Linked DNA regions of Homo sapiens: all the other regions are linked to region 3. Evidence: promoter capture Hi-C in 16 types of primary human blood cells and fetal thymus (Javierre and others, 2016). All regions are on one chromosome and are shown on one strand. Each heading gives the region's core, a stretch centred on a gene start or on the middle of the fragment in contact. The rest is flanking DNA. Distances are from core to core; before and after follow the strand shown. Region 1 overlaps IFNGR2 (interferon gamma receptor 2). Region 2 overlaps LOC105377136 (a long non-coding RNA gene). Region 3 holds the start of LINC01548 (long intergenic non-protein coding RNA 1548). Region 4 has its middle 13 kb from the start of IFNGR2. Region 5 has its middle 13 kb from the start of LINC01690. Region 6 has its middle 4.6 kb from the start of LINC01690. Region 7 has its middle 23 kb from the start of LINC01690.

Evidence for each region. Contacts are between HindIII fragments. The CHiCAGO score rates a contact against its expected background, and 5 or more counts as called.
Region 1: a contact is called between a fragment that was not itself captured here and the fragment with the promoter of LINC01548 in region 3, in 1 of 17 cell types (naive CD4 T cells). The highest score is 5.7, in naive CD4 T cells.
Region 2: a fragment that was not itself captured here is called in contact with the fragment with the promoter of LINC01548 in region 3 in 3 of 17 cell types (M1 macrophages, M0 macrophages and M2 macrophages); the score reaches 6.9 in M1 macrophages.
Region 4: a fragment that was not itself captured here is called in contact with the fragment with the promoter of LINC01548 in region 3 in 1 of 17 cell types (non-activated CD4 T cells); the score reaches 5.6 in non-activated CD4 T cells.
Region 5: a contact is called between a fragment that was not itself captured here and the fragment with the promoter of LINC01548 in region 3, in 10 of 17 cell types (M2 macrophages, M0 macrophages, M1 macrophages and 7 more). The highest score is 15.5, in M2 macrophages.
Region 6: a contact is called between a fragment that was not itself captured here and the fragment with the promoter of LINC01548 in region 3, in 10 of 17 cell types (M1 macrophages, M0 macrophages, M2 macrophages and 7 more). The highest score is 15.5, in M1 macrophages.
Region 7: a fragment that was not itself captured here is called in contact with the fragment with the promoter of LINC01548 in region 3 in 4 of 17 cell types (M0 macrophages, M2 macrophages, M1 macrophages and 1 more); the score reaches 7.0 in M0 macrophages.

The regions. Positions count from the first base shown.
Region 1 is chr21:33,413,443-33,416,303 of GRCh38, reverse strand. It overlaps IFNGR2 (interferon gamma receptor 2), which reads right to left. Exons shown (of 7, transcript NM_005534.4): 2 at 1,284-1,416. Among named protein-coding and RNA genes, the nearest start is that of IFNGR2, 11 kb to the right of the region's middle. The HindIII fragment of the contact is 1,333 bases long and covers 796-2,128 here.
Region 2 is chr21:32,923,118-32,925,817 of GRCh38, reverse strand. All of the region lies in intron 4 of LOC105377136 (a long non-coding RNA gene), which reads right to left. Among named protein-coding and RNA genes, the nearest start is that of LINC01690, 34 kb to the left of the region's middle. The HindIII fragment of the contact is 3,884 bases long and covers 1-2,700 here.
Region 3 is chr21:33,168,759-33,171,751 of GRCh38, reverse strand. It overlaps LINC01548 (long intergenic non-protein coding RNA 1548), which reads left to right and starts at 1,516. Exons shown (of 4, transcript NR_024102.1): 1 at 1,516-1,611; 2 at 1,919-2,056. RefSeq lists an enhancer at 2,235-2,304. The HindIII fragment of the contact is 7,514 bases long and covers 1-2,993 here.
Region 4 is chr21:33,388,669-33,391,421 of GRCh38, reverse strand. No RefSeq gene overlaps it. Among named protein-coding and RNA genes, the nearest start is that of IFNGR2, 13 kb to the left of the region's middle. The HindIII fragment of the contact is 1,207 bases long and covers 785-1,991 here.
Region 5 is chr21:32,944,049-32,946,840 of GRCh38, reverse strand. No RefSeq gene overlaps it. Among named protein-coding and RNA genes, the nearest start is that of LINC01690, 13 kb to the left of the region's middle. The HindIII fragment of the contact is 5,112 bases long and covers 1-2,792 here.
Region 6 is chr21:32,962,058-32,964,907 of GRCh38, reverse strand. No RefSeq gene overlaps it. Among named protein-coding and RNA genes, the nearest start is that of LINC01690, 4.6 kb to the right of the region's middle. The HindIII fragment of the contact is 4,369 bases long and covers 1-2,850 here.
Region 7 is chr21:32,980,464-32,983,406 of GRCh38, reverse strand. No RefSeq gene overlaps it. Among named protein-coding and RNA genes, the nearest start is that of LINC01690, 23 kb to the right of the region's middle. The HindIII fragment of the contact is 9,870 bases long and covers 1-2,943 here.

The sequences.
Region 1 (2,861 bases), core at 213-2,712, 240 kb before region 3:
AAGTTAGCAGGCTAAAATTGGTCACTTTCCTACTGATGGATATGAATATACACTTCCATGTATCTCTTCATGATTATAGTTTTTGTCTCTCTTTTTTTTGATGGGGGGTTGAATTATCTGTGTAGGATAAAACTACTATGAAGGCTGGGCACGGTGGCTCATGCCTGCAATCCCAGCACTTTGGGAGGCCCAGGCGGGCAAATCACTTGAGGATGGGGCCAGGAATTTGAGACCAGCCTGGCCAACATGGCAAAACCCCATCTCTACTAAAAATATACCTATTAGCCAGCCATGGTAGCTCATGCCTGTAGTCCCAGCTACTCAGGAGGCATGAGAATCACTTGAACCCAGGAGGTGGAAGTTGCAGTGAGCTGAGATCATGCCATTGCCCTCCAGCCTGGGCGATAGAGGGAAACTCTGTTTCAAAACAACAACAACAAACAGACACACATGCACACGTGCACACACACACACACATTGGAAAACTACTATGGACATTTCCATGACTTCAAATGTCTGGTAGAATTCCTCTTTGAAAGGGCTATGCTAATTGATTCTGCAAACAGCATCAGGTGAACACATATGAACCAGTCCCATCTCACAAGCACTGGACATCATCATGTCTTTACATTTGGTTTACCAAATAGTACAAAATGACTTAGCCAATAACTTCACCTTACTCTTCAATTAACCTACTTAACAACGTAAACAAAAAATAACAAAGGATGTGGACTTTGCCCTCTTTCTATATGTATTTATATTGCAAATCAAGTGATGGCCAATTCTGCAAAAGCTTGAAGAGGCAAGAGACAGATGAAAGAGCCAGGATAATATGCAAAATGGAAAACCAGTTGAGAAACTCAGAATTCATTGTAATTAACCAAACAAATTTCTGATCAGGCCATATTTGGTCTATAAGGTTAAATCAATCCGATTTTTAAGCCCGAAGATGAAGACTAAAAGCTGCCTCCTGTTCTTCCATGGTGGAAGCCTATTTTTACAACCTTTCTCCTGAAACCAGCGAAAGAATGAACTTTCCACCAAAGCAAGAACCCGTGTGGTTAGACAGCGGAGTCCTGACTGCCAGTGTAGTTTAAGCCTTCAGATGAGTGGGAGGCTGTGAAACCTCTGTCCTCAGAGATTTTACAAGCTCCAAGAACGATGTGTTTCCCACGGGTTTGATAACAAACCCTGCACAGAGGCAGGGACTAGTATGTGGCCCCAGGGTTCCGCACGATGCCCCCACAGCTCCCAGCAAGGATCCAACAGAAATACCGGCTTACTATTTAAACTGCACTTGGTAGACAACAGGCCTCGTGCTATTGCTCAGGGCCACTGGCTCCCAACTCAGGACCTGCTCTGCGTTGTACAGGCGAATCTTCGGGTGCTGAGGAGCGGGCAGCTGGGAAAGAGGGTCTTGAGGGGGACAGAGAAAAAGAAGAGGGAGGAAGGGAGGAGAGAGAGGGAAATAATTACAAAAATGTTTCAATGTCCATTATCTAAGTCATTCATACAACTCAGTTTTTGTCAAAGTGCAGAAATGGCATTACCAGGTCCCCCTGGGCATGGCCCCACACCCCCGACTTTTGGCTACAAAGATGGCCCTACTGGTACAGGCAGCACAAAAAGAAAAGAGGCGCCTGGGGCAGCCTTTCCACCTGCAGGTCCCAGTTGTTACGAACAGGTCCTGGGCCCTGGAGTCTGGCCGGACTGGGGTCCCAGTTCTACCATTAGTAACTGCATTAGGCTCGGGGCAGGTCACTTCACCTGTCTGAGCTTGAGTTTTCTTTTTCAGGAATAAGGGGTCAATAATGATACACCCACAGGGCTGTGGCGAAGATTAACGTGGTGATCATGTGACACGCGTTAGCTTCAGATTTAGTACCAAGGAAGTGTCTGGTAAATGTCCGCAAATACGTGCACACGTGCACACACTACACACGCAAAAACACACAAACATCCTAAATCAGGTACGCAAAGCCCAAGCTGCAGGGGAGGGCAAGGAACGCCGACTTCTGGGCACCATCAGAGTTGTCGTCTCTCAAGGACCCCCAGCATCGCAATCACAGGGGTGCTGGTTAAAGTGCAGGTCCTGAGGCCCCCAGGAAATCTGCATTTTAAACAAGCTTTCCAGCTGCTTCTCACACACATTAAAGTTAGAGGACAACACGGCCCGAGCTCAGTGGCTCACACCTATAATCCCAGCACTGTGGGAGGCCAAGGAAGGCAGATCACTCGAGGTCAGGAGTTTGAGACCAGTGTGGCCAACATGGCAAAACTCTGTCTCTACTAAAAATATAAAAGTTAGCCAGGTGCGGTGGTGAGCGCCTGTAATCCCAGCTACTCAGGAGGCTGAGGCAGGAGAATCGCTTGAACCCAGGAGGCAGAGGTTGCAGGGAGCTGAGATCGCACCATTGCACTCCAGTCTGGGCGACAGAGAGAGACTCTGTCTCCAAAAAAAAAAAAAAAAAAAAAAAGGTTAGGGGGCAATAAACAGAGAAAGAATATACTCCCCCGGAAACACCACCAATATCAGAATCCCTCTCTTTGGGGTGACCTGGAAGAAACAACCACAACCTCTCCCTTCCCCAAGCAGGTACTTCACAGGGAGCCTTCGGGGACCTAGAAGAAACTGCCACAACTCCTCCCTTTCCCAAGCAGGTACTTCACAGGGAGCCCTTTGTCTTAGAAAGAAAACATAATCAAGATAAGGCTTTTGACCAAAAAGATTAATAAGAAATGCCCAGAAGGTGGAAGAAAGGTTTGAAAAACATGCTGTTCCAAAATTCAAAGCAGGAAATTCAAGCCACACATTTTCGGTAAATGCGCTCAACCTCAAAGAGATCAGCTGACAGCCTGAC
Region 2 (2,700 bases), core at 17-2,516, 250 kb after region 3:
AAATACTGTGAATCACTGAACCATAAATACTACATTTATTTTTCCATTTCTGAACAACTTATGCTTTTCCTGAGGTTAAAAATTCCCTTTTTTACCTGACTTACTTTCTCTAATCCATATAGGTAGATATTTTGTTTTTTATAAACAAAGACAATTTTTTTTGTTTGTTTTAATCATTTGTCCCCAAACTGTGCCCTCCTCTCAATTTGTTCAAGCACAATAATTCCATCTTTTTGAAGCAGTCTCTTCTGGAACCTTCTGGATTGTTGTCCTATAAGTCTACTATGCAGTTATTATATTAGTGCAGATTTCCTTCACCTCCCTTCTATGATGGAGTCTCTGTTTCCTGGACCATACATCTTCCTCTTTTAAAATTTTACTCCTTTTTTATTTAAAAAAAAAAAACTTCCAATAGCTTTAGTATAAGGCCTGGAATGTCTGAAAACCTATTTTTTATACCCTTACATTTGATTAATAGTTTTGCTGGGTATAAAATTCTGCCTTTAGAAATATTTTTTCTTCAAATAGTGAAATATTTCTCTGTTGTCTTCCACCATATTGCTTTGGAGAAGTCCAATGACATTCTGATTGTTGATCCTTTGTATAAAGCATGTTATCTTTTTTCTCTCTGGAAACATGTAGGATCTTCTCTTTATTCTCATCATGATGAAATTTCACAATGATTTGTCTCAGTGAATAAATTTTCATCCATCCATAGTGCTAGGTACAATTGTGAAACTTGATACCTTGGGAACTTGATTCAGGAACTTGATACCTGGGAAGTTTTCATGAATTGCTTCTTTGGAAAATTGCCTTCCATTGTCTCTAAATCTACTTTCCATATTTGGATGTTTGACATTCTGGTGTGGTTCTATAAATTCATTATTTCTTCTCTCCTATTTTCCGTGTTTTTACTCTATATCCTGAGAGATTTTCTTAACTTTTTTACTTCTCCTGTTTCCAAGCACTTTTGTTTGTTCTCTGAATGTTTGTTTAAAATTAGTATCTTACACAAGCAACAAAAGCAAAAATAGACAAATGGATTGCATCAAACTAAAAAAACTTCTGCAAAGCAAAGGAAACAATTAGTGGAGTGAAGAGGCAACCTACAGATCGGGAGAAAATATCTTCAAATTACACATTGCATAAGGAGCTAACATCCAAAATATACAAAGAACTCGAACTACTGAAAAACAAGAAAACAAATAACCCCTTTAAAAAATGGCCAAAGACAAATAGACATTTCTCGAAAGAAGACATACAATGAGCAAAAGATATATGAAAAATGCTCAACATCTCTAATCATTAGAGAAATGAAAATTAAAACCACAATGAGATATTACCTTATACATGTTCAACTGGCTATTAGCAAAAAGTTGAAAGATAAGTATTGGCGAGGATATGGAGAAAAGGAACCCTTGTATATTGCTGGCAGGAATGTAAATTAGTACAGTTATTATGGAAAACAGTATGGAGGTTCCTGAAAAAACTAAAAATAGAATTATCATATGATCCAGCAACCCCACTTCTGGGTATATATCCAAAGGAACTGAAGTCAGTATGTTAAAGAGATGTCTGCACTTCCATGTTCACTGCAGCATTCTTCACAATAGCCAAGATATGGAAACAACCAAAGTGCCTGATATAAAAAATATTTTATACACACACACGCACACACAAATGCAATACTACTCAGCCTTAAAAAAAAGAAGGGGACATCTGTCATTTACTACAACATAGATGAACCTGGAGGACATTTGGCTAAGTTCGAGAGAACTGGTTTGGAGCAGAAACACCACATGATCTTATTTATATGTTGAATCTTAAAAAGTCAAATTCATGAAAACAGGGAGAAGAATGGCGATTGTCAGATGCTGGGGCAGGGGAGAAAAGGAGAATGGAGAAAGGGGAGATACTGGTCAAAGGGTACAAAGACAGGAGAAATAGGTTCTGGTTATCTGTTGCATAGCATGGTGACTATAGTTAATATACATTATATTTAAGAATAGGAAACAGAGTAGATTTTAAATGTTCTCACCACAAAGAAATGATAACTATTTGAGGTGATGAATATGTTAATTAGCTTGAACTGATCACTTCACAATGTATACATGTACTGAAACATCACCTTGTAGCTCATAAAATAAATACAATTATCATTTGTCAATTAAAAATAAAATTAGTATCTTATTCTTATTCCATGGATGCAATAGCTTATTCTTAGAATAGTAATGATTAATAATTTTTAAACATTTCTTCTCCCTTCATAGCTTCTATAACTTATGTTAGCTCTGAGTTACTTTCCACCTTTCTCTGGTTCTGCCTTAGAGGCTGTTCTCAAATACCAAATGGTCTTTAACTATCTCCCCGTATTGAATAATGGGTCACTAACAGCTGATGGTAAGCTCTGTGCATTTACATGGGGCTTGTCTGGGCTTCAGCACAGTGACCTGCTTGGGCCGTTTCCCTGGGGAATCTTGGATGGCAGTATGTATGACTCTTTCCTCTCATACTATTGGAAGAGCTGCAGTGAAGGCTTCACGGCTCTCCCATGGAAGCTATAGTCCTTATTACCATTATTCTGGAAACATGATCAGGAAAATGACCAGTGATCTCAACGTTTGGAATGCGAACATTTCTCTCGCCTGACATCGAAGAATAAGCGAGGAAGGCTGGAGATCTAACTACTTCTTAAAAGGA
Region 3 (2,993 bases), core at 267-2,766:
AGCCTTGTGTGCTCAACCCTGCACCCCAGGGGCCCTCAGACTACTATCATGAGGCCCAGGCCTTGAGCTGCAGAGCTGGTTAATTAGCGCTGGAGCCCAGGAAGCCCCATCTGTTCCCAGCACTTGTGTTGCTCTGATCTCTCCATTTCCCTGACTCCCAGGCCAGGGAGAGTTCTTGTCCTCCTACCCTGCAATCCCTGGAGATGCGCTCCCCCCAACCGCAGCCCAAAGTGCCTTTTCATGGGGCTGTAAGGCAGCTGTCACGAGGTAAATCCCACTCTTTACCCCGCCAGCAGGACAGGTAGGGACAGGTGGGAGGAATACGGGAGGAAACAGCTCCCACTGGTGACTGCCGGACCCTCTCCTCGCTGGCCGCAGACCCTGGAGCCACTTCCCTACCGTATCCAGAGCAGGCCCAGCCCCCGACAAAGGGACCTTTATATGGTGGTCCTGGAATTTTAGTTGGGTTCCCGTAAATGCAGACCCTGACAAGGTCTTGGGCACAGGAGGTTTATCTGAGGGGACTCCAGGAAGCAGGAGTCAGGGAGAAGGAAGCAGGAAACAGAAGTAGACGTCATTACTGAGATTGCTGCTGGAGGCAACAGGGGTCTTGAAGGTAAGAAACATGTCCTTACGGGAGAAGCTGCCTTGGTGGGTTTGGAAAGTGTGAAGAGTTCGCAGGCGTGCTCATCATCAACTAAGTGGACAGGTGAAAGCTGGAGGGGCTCTGCAGAAGCCCTGAGTTGCACTAAAATCTGTACTAATCCAAATAGTGGGTCTAGATTCCCTCTCCTACTCAAAATGACTTTAACTCCTCCAATTTAGCAAATATTGGTTGAACATCTCCTACTGTATTTAATGGAATGTAAGAGATCATTGACTATAAGGCACGCCATTATTTTAAGAGGCTCTAAGAAAAGAGCTTCCAACTCAGCTATGACACTCTATGAAAAGTAAGACTTTCCTAGGTCAGAAGCACAGAAGTGTAAAAAGAATGTTGGTCTCGGGATGGGTACCATGTGCACTGTAGCTTAATGGGCATAGTGGGGCATTGTGACATAGAAACTGCCCTTGCTCCCAGCAGAGGAGAAAAAGCGTGTAAAGCAATGTCAGTGATAACAAGCAAAAATAGGACAGGGGAGAAAGCCAAGAGTCTTCAGACCACAAGAGAAGGAGAGATTAATTCTGGTAGGGAGGTATCAAGGAGGCCTTCCTGGATGAGGGGGTGGCATCTGAGCTGGGCTCAGGAAAAGGTGGGGCTTGAACTATTGGGGATGAAGGGAAAGGCATTCCCGGCAAGTGGGAACAGCACAGGCAAAGGCTCTGAGAGGTCCTAGAAATAAAGTTATTGCACTTCAAGGGGGTTGTAAGATTTATGGGTGAGGATAAGGAAAAAGTAGAGAATTAGAAAAGCAGTGAACTTACCCCTTTACCCAGAAATCCCCCTCCTAAGTGCATGGCCAAGAGAAATTTGCCCTCAAGTGCACCTTTTCCCTTTAGGAAAATCCACCTGGATGGACAGCAGCAGAGGGAGGAGGAGGCAGGACAGACCAGAAGAGAGACAATGAGGTTCTGAACCTAGATGTTGGCCAAGGGAGCAGAGGAGGGCAGGTGAATGGCGCTATAGGGGATACTGTAGCAGGAGGGTTGACTGGACTCAGCAACTGGGGAGGGAGTAGGCAAAAAGAGAGCCTGGGAACTTAGGACAAGAAGCAGGGTATTTTTTTTTTTTCAAGGGAGAGGTAAGCAACAATGATTTACTTGTTCTTACACATGGAACTCTCCAGGGCACTACACCTGCATTTAAATCACTTGGCTCCTGGCACATGGCTCTCCTCCCATTTCTCTTTCTGTCCACTCCCTCTTCATTTGTCCTCTGCCCTCTTCGTATGACTGTTCCTTGGGGCCCTGTCTCCAGGTCAGGAGGCCCTCGCCCTGCAATCACCCTTCCTGGGAGCCTTCACTTCACCTGTGATCTCAAGACCTCTCCCTACTGCCTGACTCGCGCCGAGCTTATGGAACATCTTCCCTTGAGGGTCGCAGTCCATTCGATGAGGTATTTTCCCCATGAAATCCCTTATCTTTGGGAACCTCTTCTTTTCCTTGTGCGTCCTATGTGGGTGGATGGAGAACCACTCTCCACGTGGTTACTCGGTCCAGAAGGGCGGCTGTCTGTACAAATGCGCCTCTTCCTTTCACTTCCTCTATCCAACCAGCTTCTTCTGCCCACCTCCCTTTCATGCTCCTTTCACGCTCCTTTCACATGCTCTTGGCTCACCGTTTTTTTCTTTAAGTTTTTAGAGACAGGGTCTCGCTCTATCACTCAGGCTAGGGTGTGCTGGCACGACCATGGCTCACTGCAGCCTTGACCTCCTGGGCTCAAGCTATCCTCCTGCCTCAGCCTCCTGAGTAGCTGGGACCACAGGCACGCACCACCATGCCTGGCTAATTTTTTATGTTTTGTAGAGACAGGGGTCTCTTTCTTGCCCAAGCTGGTCTTGAACTCCTGGCCTCAAACAATCCTCCTGCCTTGGCTTCCCAAATTGCTGGGATTGCAGGAGTTTGCCACTGCGCCTGACCTGGCTCGCCTTTTTTGCTCCTGGGCGTTGCTCTGACAACCGCAACAAGCTGTCACCTGACAGCTGTGGCAGTGGGTATCTGCTGTGGCAGGCTTTCTGTCCAAGCCTGCGGGGACTTGCTTAGCTATACTGGCTTGTGTGTAAACTTGGAAGCTCAAGGGAGGTGGCTTTCCTTGGGGGAAAACTTTGACCAATAGGGGCAGGAGCTGATGAGCTCATCTGTCTTCCATCCATGTCTTGGGTGGACAATTCTGAGGCATCTTTCACACGCTTCCTCAGGGGGTCTCCAGGGGATCCAGTCCCAGCAGCCCATGGAGGTAACCAGGCCAATAACACCACACTGGGATGCTTCTTTCTCCTCCCACTATTTTTAAAATTTTTAATTTTTAAAACTTTTTGTTGAGATGCGGTCTC
Region 4 (2,753 bases), core at 139-2,638, 220 kb before region 3:
CAGCCTCCCAAAGTGCTGGGATTACAGGCGTTAGCCACCACACCCAGCCCATAAATTTTTCTAACTTTTTTGTTGCTGTTGTCTTTATAATAGTAGTACTTGGGCCAGGCGTGGTGGCTCACGCCTGTAGTCCCAGCACTTTGGGAGGCTGAGGTGGGCAGATCACTTGAGGTCAGGAGCTCAAGACCAGCCTGGCCAACACAGTGAAACCCCGTCTCTACTAAAAATACAAAAATTAGCTGGGCATGGTGGCACACACCTGTAATCCCAGTTACTCAGGAAGCTGAGACAGGAGAATCACTTGAACCTAGGGTGGAGGTTGCAGTGAGCCAAGATGGCGCCACTGCACTCCAGCCTGGGTGACAGAGCGAGACTCCGTCTCAGGAAAAAATAAAACAAAAAGTAGTACTTGTTCATTGTCAAGGAACTATAAAATACAGAAAAGTATAAAGAAGAAAAAACAATTCCTCCATAATCTTACAATACAGAAATGGCCAAAATTCATATCCTGAAACTCCTCAATTTTTAAGCACCAGCAAAACGGCCAGAAGGCAGCATTATTTCACCCTTTCTGAGAAGTGTGTAGAAACCACACACAGGACAGGAGAGGAAGGAACCTTTTGCTTCTCCTGTGTTTCCAGATTGTATGAAAATCAGGTTGCCTATAGTTTCAGGACATTCTCTACAGGTACAGTCTTGACTTTGCAAAGCCCTGAACACGTCTTGACCAGTGATAAGAGGAGATGCCGAATGCCTCACATTCACTGTCAGCAGCCCTCAAGCTTCAGCCTTCCTTGGCCAGCTCCCGGGTATAGTGACTTCCCAGTACAGTCATGGGCACTGGGCGTAAGCCATTATGTAGAGATTATGCTACATTTTGTGAGTGTTAAATACATCGTTAATGTAATGTCCTTTCTTTTGCAGAATCTTAAACTATTGTCACTGTGAACTTTCTTTTTATCTTGGAAACCTCAAACATCATAGTGTGTGACTTCTAGTGTATCCATACAAAACAGATCCAAGCAAAGCAAACACGAATTCATGTGGGTACCTTTGTGGATGAGGGCAAGAACACAGACAGCCTAGGGGCGGTGGAGCATGTTCAGAAAGGACGCGGTGGTCTGGAATATGGTGCCTTCTCTCCCTTCCTCCCTCCTTCCCTCCCTCGCTTCTTTCATGTATTTAGCACATATTTACTTACTGAGCATCTACTCTGTGCTAGGCACTGTTCTGAGAACAACAGATAAAAACTCTGAGCTTGTGGAGCTTATGTTTTAGTGGCAGCGACAGAGAATGCCCGGTCAATCACTGAACACAGCATCTAGTATCTGGAACCATGGTGATCGTGCAATGCAGAGGACCATGAGTGGACTGCAAGTTGCATTACATCCAGTCCCAGGCGATTCTCTTGGGGTCTGCAGTAGGAGAGTCTGTCAAATCCCCTCCTTTTCCTCTGTTCTGGCATTAGTGGTAGATCCCCAGGTGGCTGGACTCTCTGTGTGGGAGGTGGGGAGCCCCTGGCAGGAACTGGGGTGGCTCCTCTGGTTGTGCTAGACAAGCACCAATCCACAGAGCTTTTCAACATCCCCAAGGCACTTGGGGGGTGTCCACTGAGTGGCAGTTTCTTCTCATCTGTCAATGGGCTGCACCCCCAACTCACAGTCCCATGACCTCCCCTGGCTTGGGGGAGCCTCCACCCTGCCTGGGCCTCCCAGTTCACGCAGTGGGGAGGGCACCATTCCTCCCAGCACAGTCCAGTCCAACACCCAGGGACCTGGGCACATCCATACATGCCTCCTAACTCATTCCCCCAGGTAGCATAGGGGCATCTAGGCAAAGGAAGCTCCAGAACCCACTTTACTCAAGACCCAGGGACATTCCTGTTTTCCAAATGAACATCACTCACATTGCCTAGGAAACAGCCTCACCTCAAAAAACATTGGCTCAAATAAAGGCAACACTACCAGATATGATATTCTAATGCTGAAGCTTGGACTTATCCAAGTATCAAAAAGAGATTCAGCCAGGTGCGGTGGCTCACACCTGTAATCCAAGCACTTTGGGAGGCCGAGGCGGGAGGATTGCTTGAGCCCAGGAGTTCAAGACCAGCATGGATAATGTGGCAAAGCCCCATGTCTCAAAAAAAAAAAAAGAAAAAATTAGAGGCCAGGCACGGTGGCTCACGCCTGTAATCCCAGCGCTTTGGGAGGCCAAGGCGAGCGGATCACCTGAGGTCAGGAATTTGAGACCAGCCTGACCAACATGAAGAAACCCCATCTCTACTAAAAATACAAAATTAGCCAGGCGTGGTGGTGCATGCCTGTAATCCAAGCTACTCAGGAGGCTGAGGCAGGAGAATTGCTTGAACCCAGAGGGCAGAGGTTGCCATGAGCTGGGATCGCTCCATTGTACCCCAGCCTGGGCAACAAGAGTGAAACTCCATCTCAAAAAAAAAAAAAAAAAAAAAAATTAACCGAGCTTGGTGGTGTGCACCTGTAGTCCCAGCTACTTGGGAGGCTGAGGCAGGAGAATCGCCCAGGCCCAGGAGTTCGAGGCTGCAGTGAGCCATGATTGCATCACCACATTCCAGCCTGGGTGATAGAGTGAGACCCTGCCCACTCCTCCGCCAAAAAAAGAGAGAGAGAGACAAACTCATTTACTTTTTTATTCCTCAAAAAATATTTACTAAGCACTTCTTAGATGCCAGGCATTGTTCTAGACACTTGAGATACATCGGTGACCAAAGTGTTGTC
Region 5 (2,792 bases), core at 22-2,521, 220 kb after region 3:
GGGATGACTCACAACCATGGGCCACATGGCCTCCCCTGCGATTTGTTGATGATAGCTGATGGAAGCCAAGATCATGGCTTCCAGATTTTCTCTTTGGAGCCAAGTCACACTTATGTGGAAGGACTGGGCTTCTTCACTCCTTCTCCTTTGAGATCTCCTTGGACCCCTTTTTCTCATTTTTTTGCACTCTTCTTCTTGAGATTCGTTTTGCTTCCCATACCTACAGCCAGCACCTGTGGCTTCCCTTGGTCTACTGGAGCCCCACTTTACTCAAAGATGTGGAGCTGGAAGTGCCTGGGAATTTGTATTCCCCCAAGGTGGGCCTGATCCTCTAACTGATGGCATGCAAGTAAGAAAAGCCCAGCTTCCTTGCTTCTACTGGGCATAACTCTGGGGTAATTTACACTCCACTGTCCCCTGCAGGATCAGGTGACAGTTGCCTTGGAGCGATTTTGCCTGAGATCATACATTTGCTCGGTTTCCTCCCTCTCCGTGTCCTGCTTCTTCACTCACTCACCTCTTTTCCCTGGGAGCTTATCTTTCATAAATGACTTGCACATGAACTTTGTCTCTGGGGCTCCTGGGAAACCCAGCCTAGGATAGAACCTACGTAAAGTACTGAGCATGGCCTAGAGCACGTAGTATGTGCTCATTAAATGGCCACTGTTCTTGGCTTTGCTGTTCTAATAATCATAGCTTATGAAGGATGCTTTTCTTTTCTCCACTAATTCTTGAGTTATGACAAAGAGGTGGGGGAAGTAGAAAACTTGAGATCAGGGGTCAGTCTTGGATTCCAACCCTGTTTGCTTCTCTTAAGAGCTATTCAGCTCTTACACCAGATAGCTGATGCTCCCATCATAAAATAACTTTCACATCTGGCCTTGAAGGTACCAGCTGATATATTTTAAAAATTTAAGAAATTTTGAGAGAAGTTAGAGGATTTAGGCCTCCAAGCAGCTAGCTTCTAATGCTTTCCCAGTCTTGCCTCCTAAAAATAAAAATCAAATATTTATTGAGAGTAAAATGTCCAAGTATTAAAAAACCTCTTATAACCACATATCAAATGATGGTCCTTGTCATACAGCAAGGCCTTTCCTAAGTGCTTTAGAGATGTTGATTAATGCAAACTTCTCAACAACTCTGTGAAGCAAGTGCTATCATCACTCCCATTTTTATGGGTCAGGGAACCAGAACAGAGAGGTTCAGTCACGTGCCCAAGTTCACCCAGGCTGGTTGTGAACTTCAGCAGCGTGGCTCCAAAGTCCATGTTCTAAACCATGAGACTATTCCACCTTCCTGTAATAGAACAGGGTGGTCTCATGAGTAGGCAATGGAAGCAGTCAAAGTCCATATCCCTTGAGCGCCTGCTATGTGCAGAGACGTCCAGTTGCCTGAAAGAACTACCATTAGCGTGCACATGTGCACACACACACAGACACATACACACACACTCACACTAACCTCCCCCCAGAGCCAGAGCCTGACATTACCACTGTCTGGTTAAGTCTCCAGGTCTCAGGTAAGGCTACCATGACTAGGTAAACCCACCTATAACCATGAATAGCTCTTGGTATTCATAACCCCAGGTATTCATGGTATTCATAACCCCAGGCATACTCATTTTGTTGCATTGCCCAGCAATTCTCCAATAAAACTATGATCTAATCTTTTCTGATAGTTTCTACTCTGTGGAAGTCAGAAAGTGTGCTGGGAGTATCTGTGTTTTGTAGCACCTCAGAGGTTTCCTCCACAGAGGAGCTCAGAAAGCCTTTGGTGGATGCGTGAATGAGGGAGAAGGGAGAGGTCCATTCAATGGTTTTCCAACTGTGTTCTGAGGAATCCTGGGGTTCCATGGAGGTCCTGCAGGTGCACCAGATCAAGAGAAAGGCCACGCAAGGGGGATGCCAGAGGTATCCTTCTCCCCATCCTGTCCTGCCTCCAGACCCCTTGCCCACCCTCTTCTCACTTCAACCAGAGAAGCTCTGCCTCAATGTTTTTCATATCTTTGTCTGCCACTCAAACAATATTTGAAAACCCCTTTTGGAAGGAAGGTTAGATGACCACAGTCTCCATGTTCTCACTGCTTAGCCTGCAATGAATGTGCTGATGCGGCCTGTGACATTCTGACCTGCCACCACCCTTGAGACCCCTGTCTTGCTCCCTGATGATGTGGGTTTTTTGTTGTGTTGTGTTGTGTTGTGTTGTAAGACAGGGTCTTGCTGTGTTGCCCTGGCTGGAGCGCAGTGGTGCAACCACAGCTCACTGCAGCCTCAACCTCCTGGGCTCAAGTGATCCCCCTACATTGGCCCCCGAGTAGCTGAGATTACAGGCACGCACCACCATGCCTGGCCAATTTTTGTATTTTTTGTCAAGACAGGGTCTGGCCATGTTGCCCTGGGTGGTCTTGAACTCCTGAACTCAAGCAATCTCACCATCCTGGCCTCCCAAAGTGCTGGGATTACAGGCATGAGCCATGGTGCCCAGTCTCCTGATGATGTTTGACACATGAGTCACGGCCCCTCCTGGGGGCTCTGGCTCTGCTAAAGTCTTCTAAACTCTCCTAAACAAATGCTGAGCCAGCTTGAGATTGGCCAGGGGTGAAGGTGTCTGTTTTTCAGTCATCCAGATACAGTAGCCTGTCATTGAGTCCTTTCCCTGCATTCCTGCACATCAGCCTTGCTTTTAGGGGCGGGAAAGCTCAGGCCAGTCAGTCTTAGTGTGTCTTGGTGACTCTGGTGAAACCTTGGTGCCAGGTACCTAGGGAGCATTCTCTATGTTCCTTATTACTGGAA
Region 6 (2,850 bases), core at 281-2,780, 210 kb after region 3:
ATAAAGATACCAAACTGCAGATATGGAAGATACTGATGATTATCAGTATATTTATTTATAAGAGAAAAAGTGGAAGTAATCTCCACTGTTCATCAATAGGGAAATGGTTAAATGATGATCCACCCACTCAATGAAATATTATGCACCCATTAAAATAATTAGTTGAAAGACTCTCTAATAACCTAGGGCAATGTTTAGGAGAAAAGTAGATCACAAACTTTTATGCACATTATAACTGTAAATATAAATGCAGTTAGAGACATAATGGAAAGAGATGACTGAAACATTAAAGTAGTTGTATTTGGGTTGTGCCATTATTGTTACAGGAAAGGGGTCCCGATCCAGACCCCAAGAGAGGGCCCTTGGATCTCTTGAAACAAAGAATTTGGGGTGAGTCCATGGACTAAAGTGAAAGCAAGTTTATTAGGAAAGTGAAGGAATAAAAGAATGGCTACTCCATAGACAGAGCAGCCCGGAGGGCTGCTGTTGCCCATTTTATGGTTATTTCTTGATGATATGATAAACAAGGGGTGGATTATTCATGCCTCTCCTTTTAGACCATATAGCGTAACTTCCTGACATTGCCATGGCATTTGTAAACTGTCATGGCCCTGGTGGGAGTGTAGCAGTGAGGACAATTAGAGATCACTCTTGTCACCATCTTGGTTTTGGTGGGTTTTAGCCGGCTTCTTTACTGCAAACTGTCTTATCAGCAAGATCTTTATGACCTGTATCTTGTGCTGACCTCCTATCTCATCCTGTAAGTTAGAATGCCTAACCATCTGGGAATGCAGCCCAGTAGGTCTCAGCCTTATTTTACCCAGCTCCTATTCAAGATGGAGTTGCTCTGGTTCACCTGCCTCTGACGTTATGGGTGATTTCACCCCCTCCCCACCCCCTCCCACCCTGCCATTTTCCTCCTTTTTTTTTTTTTTTTTTGGGAAGACAGAGTCCTCCCTTTGTTGCTCAGGCTGTAGTGAAGTGGTGTGATCACAGCTCAATGCAGCCTTGACCTGCTGGGATCAAGCAATCCTCCCGCCTCAACCTCTGGAGTAGTGCGAGCCAGGACACCTGGCTAATTTTGTTTGTTTTTGTAGAGACGAGGTCTCACTATGTTGCCCAGGCTGGTCTTGAACTCCTGGGCTCAAGATATCCTCCTGCCTTGGCCTCCCAAAATGCTGGGATTACAGGCATGAGCACCATGTGCAGCCCACTTTACAGCTTTTTATTAATAATAATGATTTGTTAAAATTTTCTTCTCCCAAAGTGAAAACGTTTTAGGGAAGGAATAAAAGCAGGAACAGGGAGTTTGTGGTGGTTTACACCAGAGTAGCTTAACTTTTTTCACCCTTCACCTCGCTCCCATGCCCAACTCCTGACCTCATCTAAAATCCTTGCACTTCTTTAAAAAGATGCCTGGTGCCTTCCCAGGCAGGAAGCCTTTGCGCACGTGCATTGTTAAGAGGAAAATGAGACTGAATGGAGCTTGGCAACCCAATGGAGCTCTCAGAGCATGGATGTGATTTGAAGTTTGGGGAGGATATTCCCTCCCACCCAACCTCCACTTCTAGGGCATCTTAAGGATTTGGTTTCTGTATTTACGACACTGACATAAATAGTTGAGCTGATTTTATTTATTTATTTATTTATAGAGACAGGATCTCCCTCTGTCACCCAGGCTGGAGTGCCGTGGCATGATCATAGCTCACTGCAGCCTCCAATTCCTGGCTTCAAGCCATCCTCCCACTTCAGCCTCCTCAGTAGAGTAGCTGGGACTAAGATGCACTCCCCACCCCTGACTAAATTGGGCCAATTTTATTTACAAACAGACTTCATAACAGGTCAATTCTGGCATTAATTTATTTCAAATGGTAAGTTGTGAAATTAAATTCAAAACTTGTAAATGAGACACAATATTATCCCTTTTATTTCCAAAGCTATTAATTGTAACTGACACTTCACCATTCTCCACGCTTACTACTTTTTATGCTGCCTTCTTTGATGAATGTATTTATGGTGCTATAGATGGTGAGGTGAAGGGTGGATGGATGCAAATTAAAATGGGCTGTGTTTTTTAAGAGGATGTATTATCACACAAACAGGCAACCAAAAGAGTGGACTTTTTGTTAAGTTTTAGAGTTATTCAGCATTCTAGCTTCAAAGATAGCCTTAAAAAATCAATGAAACTATACTTAAGAAAGGTCAGGGTGGGTGCAAATGGAGATTTAGAGACTATGAAGATTCTTAACTTTGCCAAAGTTTTAATCAAATGTATGAGAAAGTCGTATGTCTCCCGACCTCCATCCCCACCCCCACCAGTAGCAACAGGGTTTGTCTAAGGAAAATCACTACTTCCCTGACTTGTGATTGAAAGGCCATCTTAATCCTGAGCACGCCTCTGCTATTTTTAGCCCTTTGCACAAAGCACACCAGAGCCAAAGGCTGGGGACATTACTGAGCCCCTGGGGAAGAGGCTGTTGACTTGTTATTTTCCTTTAACTCTGCCAGTCCTGTGCCTGTCGAGGTGATAGTAATCCAGTTTGACATGAGATCTTGCCCCTTCCCCCACCCCAAATTCAAGCATCATTTTGATTGCCTATGGACATACTTTGCACTTTCTAGGTTTCTTTATTTTTTGAGATGGAGTCTCGCTCTGTTGCCCAGGCTGGAGTGCAGTGGCATGACCTCGGCTCACTGCAAACTCTATCTCCCAGATTCAAGCAATTCTCCTACCTCAGCCTCCTGAGTAGCTGGGATTACAGGCGCCCACCCCCATGCCCAGCTAATTTTTGCATTTTTAGTAGAGATGGGGTTTTACCACATTGGCCAGGCTGGTCTCGAACTCCTAAC
Region 7 (2,943 bases), core at 151-2,650, 190 kb after region 3:
ACAGTGAGCAACCTGCCTCTCACTAGCCTTGGTATATTTGCTTATTTGCTGACTCAAGTAAGTAACTTGCTTGTTTATTGTAACCAGTCTCCAAAGAGTTGCTTTCTCTGCCCCCTACCTCCATACCCTGTCCCCAATACCCTGTATCCTGGGCACCAGACATACTGTTGCAGCTGCCTTCATGCTGGGAGGGGAGGGGAGGGGAGGAGAGGGCAGGGGAGGGGGAGGAGAGGGGAGGGCCAGGGAGGGGGAGAGGAGGGGAGGGAAGAGGAGAGGAGAGAAGAGGAAAGGAGAGGAGAAACAGATGGGACCTTTATCTTTGTATAGGACTCAGGTGATAAATTAAGAAGGGGAACAGGAGGGACCTATATCCTTGTGTAGGAGTCAGGTGATAAATTTCATCTTGCTTTCGTTGGCAGAAGGAAGTTGATGGCTTTAGGTATTTTATAGGCCTTTGGATCCAACCTGGTTGTCTGTTTGCTTGGAATGACACCCCTCCCTGTATGCCCCTATGCTAGGGATCCTGGGGGACCCCAGCCATGAATTAAGACACCTGTAATCCCAGCACTTTAGGAGGCTGAGGAGGGAGGATTGCTTGAGGGCAGGAGTTCAAGACCAGCCTGGGCAATATAGTGAGAACCCCTTCTCTACAAAAACAAATAAATAAAAATTTAAAAATTAATAAATAAATATAAAAAAGACTTGGCTTCCCTGTCTCTGCTGAAATGGTGCTTTCTCCAAGTTGCTCCCTCCACCCTTGCTTTATATGGCACAGGGAGCCAGAAACGAGGTTAAAAGACAAACTGCAAACTGGCACAAATACTTGCAACATACGGGACAAAGTGATAATAATTTTAATAATGACATCGGTAGAATAATGGACAGAGGATGTGAACAAAACACATGAAAAGATGCTCAGTCTTGCTTTTAATCAACTGTACGCAAATCAAAATGAGACCCCTCCTTTATTTTTCTTCTCAGACTGCCAAAGATGACAAACACGATAATGAGATGCATTGGTGAGGGTTTGGTTGAAATACCATTTCATCTAACCTCTCTGGAGCACAGACTAGTTATATCATCTTTTAATCCAGTAACTCCATTTCTTAGGAATTTATTCAAAGGAAACAATAAGACAGACATTAGAATATGTATATTATCAATAACATACATAAGGATGCATGTTAAGATATGTATATATGTATTTATGTATGACAAAATGTCTATATTATTAATAATATACATAAGGATGTTTGTTGCATCATTGTTTATGATACCAAAAGTTGGAAAAAGCTAAATGTCCATCACTGGAAAATTAATTCAATAAATAATGATAGAATGGAATATAGTACAGTCTTTGAGAAAGCAAAGGTTGATCTTTTTGTATTAATACATAAAGTTGTGTGTATTGATATATAAAATCATATTTTGTTTTATTTATGACCAAAAAACTTCGCTTGTCTAATACTATTCGTGTGCCAGATGCTGTTGCAAATATATCACAGATATTAATGCATTTGTCCCTCAGCACGCCTTGGGGAGGGGAGGTGAGGGGAGGGAAGGGGAGGGAAGGGGAGGGAAGGCGAGAGAAGGGGAGAGAAGGGAAATACTCCAAACATAAAGTACTCCAAAGCCCATATTCTTAAACACCGCACTCTCCTGCTCATGAAAAAACAGACAAACAAATGTTTTCAAGTTTATGATCTCACTCATATGTGTGTGTATTTTGATAAAAATATACAGGATGAAGTTTCAACAGTGGTTCTTTCTAGAAGTGGAGATTCATTGACACCAATCATGTATTATCAATAAAACATAATTATGCAGCCAATGGAAAAATAAACTGTAACTTGGGGAAGCGTGAGAGTTGCTTGGTCCCCTGTCCTCTCCTCATCTAAGGATTATCCTTGGGGTGCTCCAACAGAGGCGGGTCTGACCCTGGGCCTTCCCCATGTCTGCTGGCCTTTCCTTTGCCAAGACGCAGAAACGATGTGCCTCTGGTGAGACTCACAGTGAATCCAGGAGGCTGGACCAAGAAGAATGTGACACAGGGCAGTAGCAAAAGCACCGAATTGGGAGTTAAGCAACAGGGACCCTTTTAGCCAGCTGGGTGAGTCCAGGCACATCCTTTACCTCCCTGGGAGTCAGCCCCTTATGGGAAAATGAATAAGCCTCCAGCAGCTTATGGACCTTCAGAAAGAAACTCACTGGTGAGGCTACAAAAAACATCATGTAAATAAAGCTCTGCGCATCAAGCCTGTTGCGTGGTAGGTGTTTCAAGAGTGACAGCTATTGTGTCGTCATTGTGATTCTTCTCAGTGAACTGCAGACATGAGGATGAGGGGAGATGGACCACACGAGGGCTACAGATCTGGGGTTTGTGCACTTCAGAAAATCTTCTCAACCGATAAAGTTAGTCCAGTCTCTGCATGGGCTAGGCTCAGAACTTATTTCTTGGTGAAATCTCTGCTCCCTTCTCAACTGGCTTCATAATACCATGACACTTCAGTTTCCGGAAGCACACTATCTAGCCACCTTATGATATAGGATCAAGCCAAGAAACTGGAAAGAAGCAAACAAAAATTAAAGATCTTCCTATTGTACCAAATACAATGGTTGAAATTCATGCCTGTCACAGGAAAAATATTTTGTTCCTAATGATACTAAGTTATCATCTTAATAATAACTCATATTTATTGTATATTTACTACACTGCAATCCCCATTGGGTGCTTGATGTGTATTATTTCATTTAACCTTCTCAATAATATCCTGGAGTAAGTATTATTTCCATTTCCATTTACAGGCACACAGAAATTAAATAATTTGCCCAGGATCACAAAGCCAGAGTTTTGACACTTATTCTTGTTACACCTTGTTAACAGCCTTCACAAGCCAATAGAAACAGCAGAGTAGAATGAAGGCAAGGTGCCCCCACAAGCTA